2 separate regions of the Homo sapiens genome follow, and region 2 is linked to region 1. Evidence: promoter capture Hi-C in 16 types of primary human blood cells and fetal thymus (Javierre and others, 2016). All regions are on one chromosome and are shown on one strand. Each heading gives the region's core, a stretch centred on a gene start or on the middle of the fragment in contact. The rest is flanking DNA. Distances are from core to core; before and after follow the strand shown.

What was found. The method cuts DNA at HindIII sites, captures the fragments that hold promoters and counts their contacts. A CHiCAGO score of 5 or more calls a contact.
Region 2: a contact is called between a fragment that was not itself captured here and the fragment with the promoter of AFF2 in region 1, in 1 of 17 cell types (neutrophils). The highest score is 5.2, in neutrophils.

The regions. Positions count from the first base shown.
Region 1 is chrX:148,499,048-148,504,351 of GRCh38, forward strand. It overlaps AFF2 (ALF transcription elongation factor 2), which reads left to right and starts at 1,570. Exons shown (of 21, transcript NM_002025.4): 1 at 1,570-2,097. The coding sequence starts at 2,051. RefSeq lists an enhancer at 2,230-3,107. The HindIII fragment of the contact is 5,176 bases long and covers 1-4,236 here.
Region 2 is chrX:148,795,904-148,800,848 of GRCh38, forward strand. All of the region lies in intron 3 of AFF2 (ALF transcription elongation factor 2), which reads left to right. Among named protein-coding and RNA genes, the nearest start is that of AFF2, 300 kb to the left of the region's middle. The HindIII fragment of the contact is 4,244 bases long and covers 465-4,708 here.

The DNA.
Region 1 (5,304 bases), core at 320-2,819:
TGCAGAATCTTAGAGCCTTGTTTCTCTATGTTAATGATGTGCTTTCTTTCCCCCCGTAAAACAATGTGAAAGAGACCAGACCCTGGGCCCCTTGTAGCTCAAATGCTGAAGTCATTCATGCTTGGAGCTGAGGCACCTTCTACTGGCTCCAGCCCTGGAAGAGCTTCCCAGGTTCTAGGTTCTAATCTGGGATCCCCCTCTAGGGGAAATATCAGATCTTGAGCATTTTAATGTCTTAGGGTCTCTGTTTCTTCAGGAAAAAAATGAAGTTAAAAGGTATTTGGATGATTTTGGTAATATGAGATAATACTGTAGAAGCATATTCAAATAGAAGGGAGAATGTCAGAGAAGTATGAGCCAGAGGGCTGCTGGGTGTTTTATGGAGAAACTGAGGCCCAGATAAGTGACTTGCTTGGAGTCACACACAGAGCTACCGGCACCCTGCTCTGTCAGGGCTCAGTCTGCTGTCCTTCCCAAGAGAGTTCTAGCCTTAGGATTTGAAAAATGTGCCAATACTATTCCCTCTGTATAACGACACGAAGAAGGCAAATTACATGCCTAGGACTCCAGAATGCTCATGTCCTGAAATGCCAGAAAGCGGTCCCGCCCCTTCCCACAGACCTTTCTCTGCACGGAGGCCAGGGAACCTTTCCCTCCAGGGAATTGGCTAAAGGGATCCACTCCTTCCTGGATCAGAGGTGGAGGTTGAAGGGAGTAGGAGGCTCGGTTAAACCCTCCACGTGCAGAAAGAGAATTTCAGGCCAGAAGGGAGACGGGCAGCCGGTGCGTGGGATACTGGGCACACACCCAGTGGTTTTCCCATTTCTCAGAGGAGGAGCTAGCAGAAGTCTTTTGCTCAAGGCACCTGGTGACCGTGCGAGGAAAGTGACAGTGGAACCCAGTTTAACAGTATCCTAACCCCGAACTCAAGGACCACGCAAGGGCAGTCATTTGTTCCTATCCTTGCTGCCCACTGAATCCAGGGCCTATAGCTCGCTGACCTACTAGGTGCGCGCCTAAAGGCATGCCTGGAGGGCCTGGGTGCGGGCACGTGGAGCCACGGGGCTGGTGAAGGTGACCGCCTTCTCCTTCCTGGACCCGCGTGCTACGCACTACAGACCTGAGGGATGCTCAGGCCCGCAAAGTTTGCTCCACTACTCGGGGGCTCAAGGAGCTGTGCTTGAGGTGGCAGGGGGCGACCTTCAACCCCACGGCTGTTTGTGCTGTCTTTTCTAGTTCAAAACTAATTCCCAGTGGTGGGGGTGGGCTGGGCTTCAGAGAGGGGTCCCATTCCCGAAGCCCGCGTCCTGGTCCCGCCAGCCCACCTCCTGTATCCCTGCCACGGCCCCTGCGTCCCGGGTCCGGGTCCGGGTCCTCAGCTCTGTGGCCGCTCCCACTAGCTGATTTTGACAGTGGGGGGTGGGAGAGGGTTCCCGAAAGGCAGGGGCGGGCGCGGCGAGCCCCTGCCAGATCCGGGGATGATAACGTGCCTGCTCCATGTCGCGGCTTCTAGCTGTCCAGGCTCCGCCCCCTGTGAGTGTGTAAGTGTGTGATGCTGCCGCGGCCGCCGCCGCCGCCTGTGCAGCCGCTGCCGCCGCCGCCGCCGCCGCCGCCGCCGCCGCCGCCGCCGCCGCCGCTGCCGCCCCGGCTGCCGCGCCGCGCCGCTGCCTCTGCCCCGGCCGCCCCCGCCGCCGCTGCCGCCGCCGGCCCGCAGCCAGCCAGGCGGGCGGCCCAGCCCGCCTGAGCCCGCAGCGGCTGCCGCCGCAGCGTCGGGTCGCTGGGTGCGCGGGCTACCGCGGACCGAGCGGACCCGAGTGGGCGACCAGGCGCTTGCCCGCCCAGTGCCACTGCCGCCGCTTCCTCGCCGGAGCACAGGACCAGACACCTCCAGCGCCCGCTGCTGCTGCCGATGCGGCCCGGACACTTTTAGCTGGGCGGGAGGGCTGGAGAGCCGGGGGCCGCCGAGAACCGCCAGCGAGCTGTGCCGAGAGCCGCGCCGACCCGCTGCGATCAGGGACAGGCGCCCGCCCGCCGCCGCCGCCTGGCCGCTATGGATCTATTCGACTTTTTCAGAGACTGGGACTTGGAGCAGCAGTGGTAGGTGTTGATTTTTGCCTTCTCCTTTGATGAGCGAGTCTCCTGGCGAAGTCTGAGGTTTTCGCCTTTGTTAAGAGGAGCTGAAGCTGTCGTGGGGGGCGCCCCGGACTCCCTCCCACTTGCTCTCAGCCACCTCTGGCCCCGGCCGCGCTGACTCCTAGGTCGGATGCCGGGGTGGGGGGAGGTGCGGGAAGAGGGAGGGATGCGGACCCGAAAGCGTCGCTTTGCGCTCCAAGTCTAAAGAGTTGCATTTGGCTCACATCGAATTCGGTGCCGCCCGAGGGCTGAACCGCACGACCTCCCAGGAGCTTTTCTCTCGGAGCGGCTTGCCGGTCTGGCCTCCTTGAGCCCCGGATGCCGCCCGCCCGAAATGTCTCAACTTTCCAGGTGCCCAACGCCCGCGGCGGGCCATGGGGGAAAGGCAACGGCCAGGTGCGGCCAGCAGCCCTCTGCTTCCTTGGTGGCCACCGCCCCCGCTGCCGCCACCTCCATCCCTGCGCTGCGCGGCGCGCACACCTTTCCTTCTGCCGACTCAGCCCAAGTTCCCTGCACTCCCGGGTGGAGCAGCGGCTTTGGGGGCCACCACTCAGGGGACCTTGGTTCGAGGCCGACTTCGGCGCTTGGCTTTCAAGACTGAGGGTTTTCGGAGTTGGCCCCCCAAATCCGCAGCTCTGATGTCAATGCACATTTAATTACCGGATGGACCCCCTTCGGCCTCCCACTGGGAGGCAGCCGTAGTTTTTTGTAAGGGACCTCCAGCTCAGATTCAAAGGTTGAGTCAGCTCTTCACAAAATACCCTAAACTTGTCGCTGAGACATTTTGAAAGATGGTAGAAAGGTGACTGGGGACCTGGAAAGTTGTTAACTCTCTTAGAGATGTGCGTGCGCGTGTGCATAAATACTGATATACATATCTATTAACTTTTCAAAAACTTCACCTACTACAAACATTATCACAGTTTATTTGTCATAATACTTAAACGTATCAGATTCCCCCCGCAGTCTAAGGAATTAGATGGGGAGGGGGCGCAGTGGTAACCGCTTAAAATTGCATTCTTGGTTATTGCCTTTTAAAATGTATTTAGAATGATCTGTAGTACCTACCAATAGTGCGAAATCTTTTGCAATGTTAAACTACTAGCGGCCGTTGGTTATGAATGCTGTGTATTTTTACAAGGATTTCCCCTGTTGATGTGATATTTTAGGCAATTTCCTTCTTTAAAAAAGGGTCATATGCTTAGCCAACAGCTTCATTATGCCAATCATGCCTCCTTTAGTTGCAAATCCAAGATAGTCAGAACTTAAATACATTTTATTTTACAGCAATTCCGGATAAATCCTTGAAGCGCAAATTATGCTGTATCAGTATTAATCTATAAGGCGTTTTGGATACCACGGTTTTATCAGCTCTGTAGAAATACATTGTTACATTAAAAAATGCTGTTATTTGAAAGTAAAAATTACTATAAAATTATTGCTCAATTAGATATTATGCTTCTGCACACAGCCTTTACTCTGCTTCACTAATTTATTTTGCAGACAACTGATAACCATAGCACTCTATTTGCATACAATTTGCCTAATATGTGGTGTGGGTTACATCGTTAATTTAACAGACATTGTTATAATTAATTTCATGGGTATAGTTCAAATGTTAAACATATACAAGGTATTAGGTTTTTAGAAACATGTTTTTTATATTAATTCCGGTTTAATCTTATGCATATGCAATTGCATATTTAAAGGGAATGGACTCTTTTATGTTTGATTTCTTTAAAAAAAATGATAGGCTCCCTCACCCCTGTGGGAGGCTTTCTTTTTCTTATCTTAAGGAAAATGCAAAACCTTTTTTTCCTCCAGATCCCTAACTGAGACACATCAGTTAAGAAGCATAGACTTGGACACTTCGTGAATATTATGTGAAATACTGATTAATTAGTGTAACGCATCTGCATAAATAAGCCTGTCCTTTCCCTCTGTACATGATCCAGGAAAATTTCTCCTTCTTACTGCTCGTGAGTGGCACACTTCGTGATGCATCTCTGTTTATAAACATTTGTAATGTGGTTGTGCTTTTGTGTTTTGTATAGCTCCACAGAGAAAAGGAACATAAATGTGACAATAGTGGATGAACTAAAAAGCTTGACATTGTCTTGAGTGGAAATTGGTACCTTTCCCACTTCTCTTTGGAAGTCCAGAGCATGCCAGTTACGTGTTCATTATATGTTTACTTCCATTCCTTGGGAGTAAATAGCTACTTAAAGTGATGGCCTCCACTCCCCACGCCCCCAAGCCCCCAGGAGGGCCAAGAAAGGAAAAAAGACCAGCAAAGTTAACGATCTTATTTACCTTGAATTTATTCTTAACATTCACTTATGGAACAGTAAGCTCTGAGCTGTCTCTACTGCAACCCTAGATGTCTGACAATAAATGGATCAGGACAGCTTAAAAACAAACTCATTTTCCTAGACATAATGAAGAAAGACTTTACATACACAGGCATATGTGTTATTTGCAAACACTTGACTGTAGTAAACAAAAAGTGTGTGCCCATTTATAAACACACACATTTGTTAGGGCAAATGCAAATGGAAAGGATGGGGTACTAATGATGCTGCAGTGTGCATGTTATGTGCAGTGTTTTGGAATGCTCACATGCCTAATGGAACATACCACTGGATTTCACAAACTGCAAGAATAACTTAATGGGTCATGCTCTGGACTCGATTAAAGGGCCAAAGCTCAAGTTCTTTAAGATTCTTGGATGAATGAGCAATGTTCACCTGAGTCTGAATTTAATATAAACCATTCTGTGAAAGAAAAAGATGGCACAGATGTCTGTCTGTGTGCATGAAAGACATCACTTGCTCTTAAAGAAAAAGATAAATTAAAAAAAAATCAAATTTCTTCATTTAAATCATTCCATAGACTTGTTTTTGGTAACCAAGTAAATGAATACTTGAGGTGACTGAAGATCAGGTAATGATGTCATTAATCCCCATTTAAGAGGGAAAAAAAGCAAATTCAGAGGGCCTACAAAATGTACAGCCTTTCAGTTCTGTAAGCACCTCCCACCCAGTATTGATTAGGTATTGCTTTGTGACAAGCCAAGGTTCTTTGTGGGGATGCTTACCTTTTCTTCATTGGAAGGAAGGAAAGGAAAGAAAAGAAAGAAAATACAGAAAGGGACACATTCTTAAAAAAAAG
Region 2 (4,945 bases), core at 1,337-3,836, 300 kb after region 1:
AGATTAGTGTGATCATAATAAATTTTTATTTACCAAATACCCTCAGCCTAGAGCTTTTCAGGTAACCAATTAAATGCACACTAAGTATTACTAATTGCATTATTTAAATTGGTATACTATTTTAGGTTTAGAAGGTCCCTCTTCTTCATGATAATGCATTTTCATGAAGAAAGACCTTAAAGCTGATTCTAAGATCTTCAAATAACACATCATAGTGTAGTATATGTTGGTGAGTTTATTTATCTTGAGTTGGGAGCTTTTATAGATTCCAGCTATATGTCTTCACCACAAATCTTGTTGTTGTTGTTGTTTTTGTGCTGATGGCATGAGTGAGAATAAATGGAATTTGTGGAGTCTGTGAAGGCCACTGGAGGGAAATTTCCCAATCTCCTAATATATCAGTGTCTCTTCCTGTCTGTTTCTGATGGGGTCCTACAGCAGGTCAACATCCTTAGGTAAAGAAAAGCTTCCTAAGAGTTAGCAGCAGTCATTGAAAGTAAATTAATGAAACCCTGCATCTGCTGATCTATTTGACAAGAAGAAATTCTGGCTGCCAACAGTTAGAAACCACTAGAAATAATCTCCATTGGAAACCGGGCTTCGACTTTCTGCCCTGGGCTGCCCAAAGTATTGCATTAGACAATGCGAAAGTAAGTTGAACTTTGAATTATAATTTCAATGACTGTCTAGCGAAATGGATTCATGCTCTGACACTGCACCTTTGAGGCTGTGGGTTGGTTCACATAAGATAAAAATCTGTCTGGCCTGACAGTTGAAAAGGTCGCAAGAACGCTTGATGTCTGATGGTCTCAGTGTATTGCCAAATCTTGATTAAAATGGAAGACTTAGGAACAATTATGTTTTTTTCTTTCAAAATAATCTTTTCAAACAGAGCCATTTCTACATGTTTTGGCTTGAAATTTATTGACTTAGCAAAGTATCGATTATATTTTCACTACCATTTAGCAATAACCTCATACTTAACATGAAGCTCTCACATAGTTGAGATACTTTGGCCTTGGGGCAACAGGTTATTTTTGAAAATGACATCTAATTGTCATTGTAGTATGTTTGGTATTAAAAATTGAACTATCTACATTTTAATGCTTCCACTTTAGCTCTAAAGCACGTTGCCTGTCGTCTGTTTTCGTTATGAAAATACTTGCAGGAATGGCTTAACATTTTTACTTCTGTAGATCATGCAGGCTCTGTACCTGTGAAATGTGTAGCTTTTAATTTTAGATTAGAGACTTCTACTAGCTAGAGATTAACACAAGTTGAATCTTTCAAATTAATCTGCTTTTGGGCCACAGATTGACAGACTTAACAGACACGAGTCACCTTAAAGACTGGATTCTAAGCCAACCCGCTTGTTTTACATCTGGGAAAACTGTGACTTGCCCAAAGTCATACAGTTTGTCACTGAACCAATAGAGTTTCTTCAAGACAGTCAGTTCAAGTATATTAAACAGTATCTCATGAAGTGCTAAAGGAATCCTGAGGGCAGGGACAAAGTGTTACATATAGATGTCCACCATACTCAGAGGAACTCTGTTCAGATTAATCTACCACATTTTCTGTTCTTAGCCAATTACATTTCACTATGCCAAAAATAAAGTACTTTCAGGAAACTACTTTCTGTCTTTTCCAAATGCCAAAGTCACTCTCTATCTGAATTTTTTCTCTTATTCAAAGTTAAGGTCCTGTCTTACTTCCTTGCTTGACCACCAGATCCATGGACAGTTTTTCCTTTCGTGACTTTCTATTAAAGTTATTGTCAGAGCCATGAATCTGGCTTTTTAAAATATGATCACCACATAAACTGGATTTCCAGGATAGCCCTGATTTCAATTCATTCTCCCCATAAATTGGTATTCTAGAAATTCCCATATTTGGCCATGTAAATCACGTCATGCAAGCTGACTTTGGTACCCACTGAAAGAAAATTTTTTTTCTGCCAATGTGCCTCATTTAGGGATCAAAAAAAGATATCTGCTAACATGCACTGTAATTCCTCACTTTAGATATGCAGGTCTTGTCTACTCGTCTATAGTATACCCTCCCTGTCTTAGTCTGTCTTGTGCTTCTATAACAGAATACCTGAGACTGGGTAATTTATAATGAACAGAAATTTATTGGCTCACAGTTTTAGAAATTGAGAAGTCCAATATCAAGATGTCAGCATCTGGCACAGGCCTTCTTTCTGCATTATAACATGGTAGAAGGCATCACATGGAAGAAGTTGGAGGTTGGGGAGAGAGAGAGAGAGAGTGAGAGAGACAGAGAGAGAAGCAGAAACAAAAGAGTGCCAAACTTGTCATTTTATCAGGAACCCACTCCCATGATAATGACATTAATTTATTCATGAGGGCAGAGCCCCCATAGCCTAATCAACCCTAAGGGCCCCACCTCTGAATACTGTTACAGTGGCAATTAAATTTCAACATGACGTTTTGAAAGGACAAACATTCAAGCCATAGCACTCCCTGTGGACAGCCATTGTTTATCATGTACTGCATTTTACCTAATGCTTAGCTTAGTGCACTGTGCATACTGAGGGTGCAATGCATATTTGTCATTTGGGATTATTTCCTTTACATGAACAGATTTTCCAAACGCCAAATTTAGAAGTACTGCAACACATTAATTCTGGTCAAGAGTAGGTCTGGTTAGTTCATTAAGAGTTTATTTTATCAGTAATGTGTTGTGCTTGTACCTGAAATTATAAATGCCTGCCAGGTATCTGTTTATCCTACATACTTCCACAACTCAGAAATAATCAATACCTTGTTTTCTTGTGGATGCGAGAAAAGTTAGGATCACTGATGCTGGGTATATGCTGTCCACGTTAATTGGCATAGACCGTTAGGCTTCATAAACCATGGTACACCATGTATCACTCCTTCTTTGATCTTCAGCATAAAATTCAATGGGCTTGAGATGCTCCACAGAGCTGGCCCACATTTAATGTCACAGACCCTTTATGACACACACTATGTCTATTTCAGGGGTCAGTTTTTGCAGAGTGATTTTCTGGAAAAGTGCCATGCCCTTCCATGAGCCAAGAATTTCAGTGTCTCATAAATGGTGGACAGACAGGACCTTGGGGCCATCTCTCCAGCTAACAGAAGATACTAAGTAAGGCCCAGGGGAAGTTTAAGAAACAAACTTCTTGTGTTTGTTCTATTGATTTTCTTGCCAACAAGAAGTGTAACAAATTGTGATGTTTCCAAATAAAAAGCATCAGGAATAAGCTCCAATTTTATTGAGTGATTTCCTGGACACACATGCAGGTGCATTTTGGAAGAGGCTGGATATAGTCAGACACAGGTAACAAAGCCAGGTCACTTAACAAAGCAGGAAAGATAAGGGCCACGGTTGCAAATCATTATTTATAATCAAACAAAATGGTAATTTTGCCAACACTCCCTTCTCAAATATAAGACCATCATCATGGTAATCAAACTATTACTCTGACACAGTTTACTTATCAGGAGAACAATCTGAGATTGATGACCTGAAAATGGAGGTTGTCTTTCAATTCATTTGAAATGCAAACCGAGTGGACAACCTATACCTACTGTGGCATATTTTTAAAGCAAAATCAGGCACCTACATTGACCTCCTATTTACATTTCTTTGAGAAGAAAAGAAAATCACATAAAAGCTATCAAGAAACACATTTCACAGCAGGCAAATTAATTGGTTTTACAGTATTTGAATGGAGGGTTTGTCAAATAAAACATGCCATGACAGTTAATAGTGTCATTTAGAGCCAGAAAATTATTGGCTTATTTGTTATTGGATAAAAGGAAGGCAAACATTTTGTATTAGAAAGTTTTAATGTGTTTAAAATCCTCATTAGGGATTAATGGACATGCTTGCTTAGCATAGCGCCTCATTAATTTGAGGCTAAACAGTTACTTCTGTGTTTCAATCTCAGTGTTGTTTCTTAACATTTTTTTTTTACTTCTCTTTAATTAGATCTTGCATTTGAGTTTGGTCTCTACACCATTGGAGATGTAGATTTAATTAATGAGATTTATAAATCTAATGAAAGTGAGTTATTCTTAGCTATCGTTTCATTTTAGTGAGCAGTTAAACCACATGTAAGTGGGCGCAGATCTAAGAGATTTCAGAAGTACAGAAAAAATGTGAACTTCCCTGAATATATTTAGCTGTGTCACTTGGCATTAATAGATAAAAGTGTTTTAATTAGAGTCATAAATAATAGGGGAGCTGGCGAGGATTCAGTTCCCATGCACATGGCTTGTTCTTTAGGATCATCACTGTCAAAGAAGAGCAATTGTAACTCTGTTTCTGTGGAATTTCAGTGTCATCCACTGGCAATTAAGACAATCCTAAGTGCGGAGTATAGAGAGTCAATAAGGCGCCAAGTTCGTTAGAGGTTAGTACAAAAGTAGAGCCACTTTCTATCAAGTGTATTCTGTTGTCACTGTTTTATTGAGGGCATCTGTGGGTACGATTTATAAAGTCTATTCCATTTACATTGCTTTAAGAGGAATTTAGTTAAAGGAAAAACTGATATCTGAGTTTTTGGTTTTCAAAAAGACGTTTAAATCATTAGTTATTTATTTGTAAGAAGACCATTGTAGTTTCTTTAGGGCGAGGGATTGTGAATGTCAAGGTAAGTCCTTTTTTTTCTAAAAGATTTTCAAAAAATAAGAGCCAAAGGTACATATTTAAAAGCTTCTTTTTTAAACGGGGTTATGGAACTTAATTTAAGACCCCATAATATACCTGTGGCAATGCCTTCAGAAATTACCAGAAAAAACTGAACTCCCACTTTTTTTTTCCCATGAGGAAGTCCTTGTATCTTAGACACTGTAAATGATTTGAAGAACTTGTCAGTCCAAGACACATAAAAGATAATCGTATTTTAAAATACTACATGATAGCAATCACATATTAAATGTGTAAAATG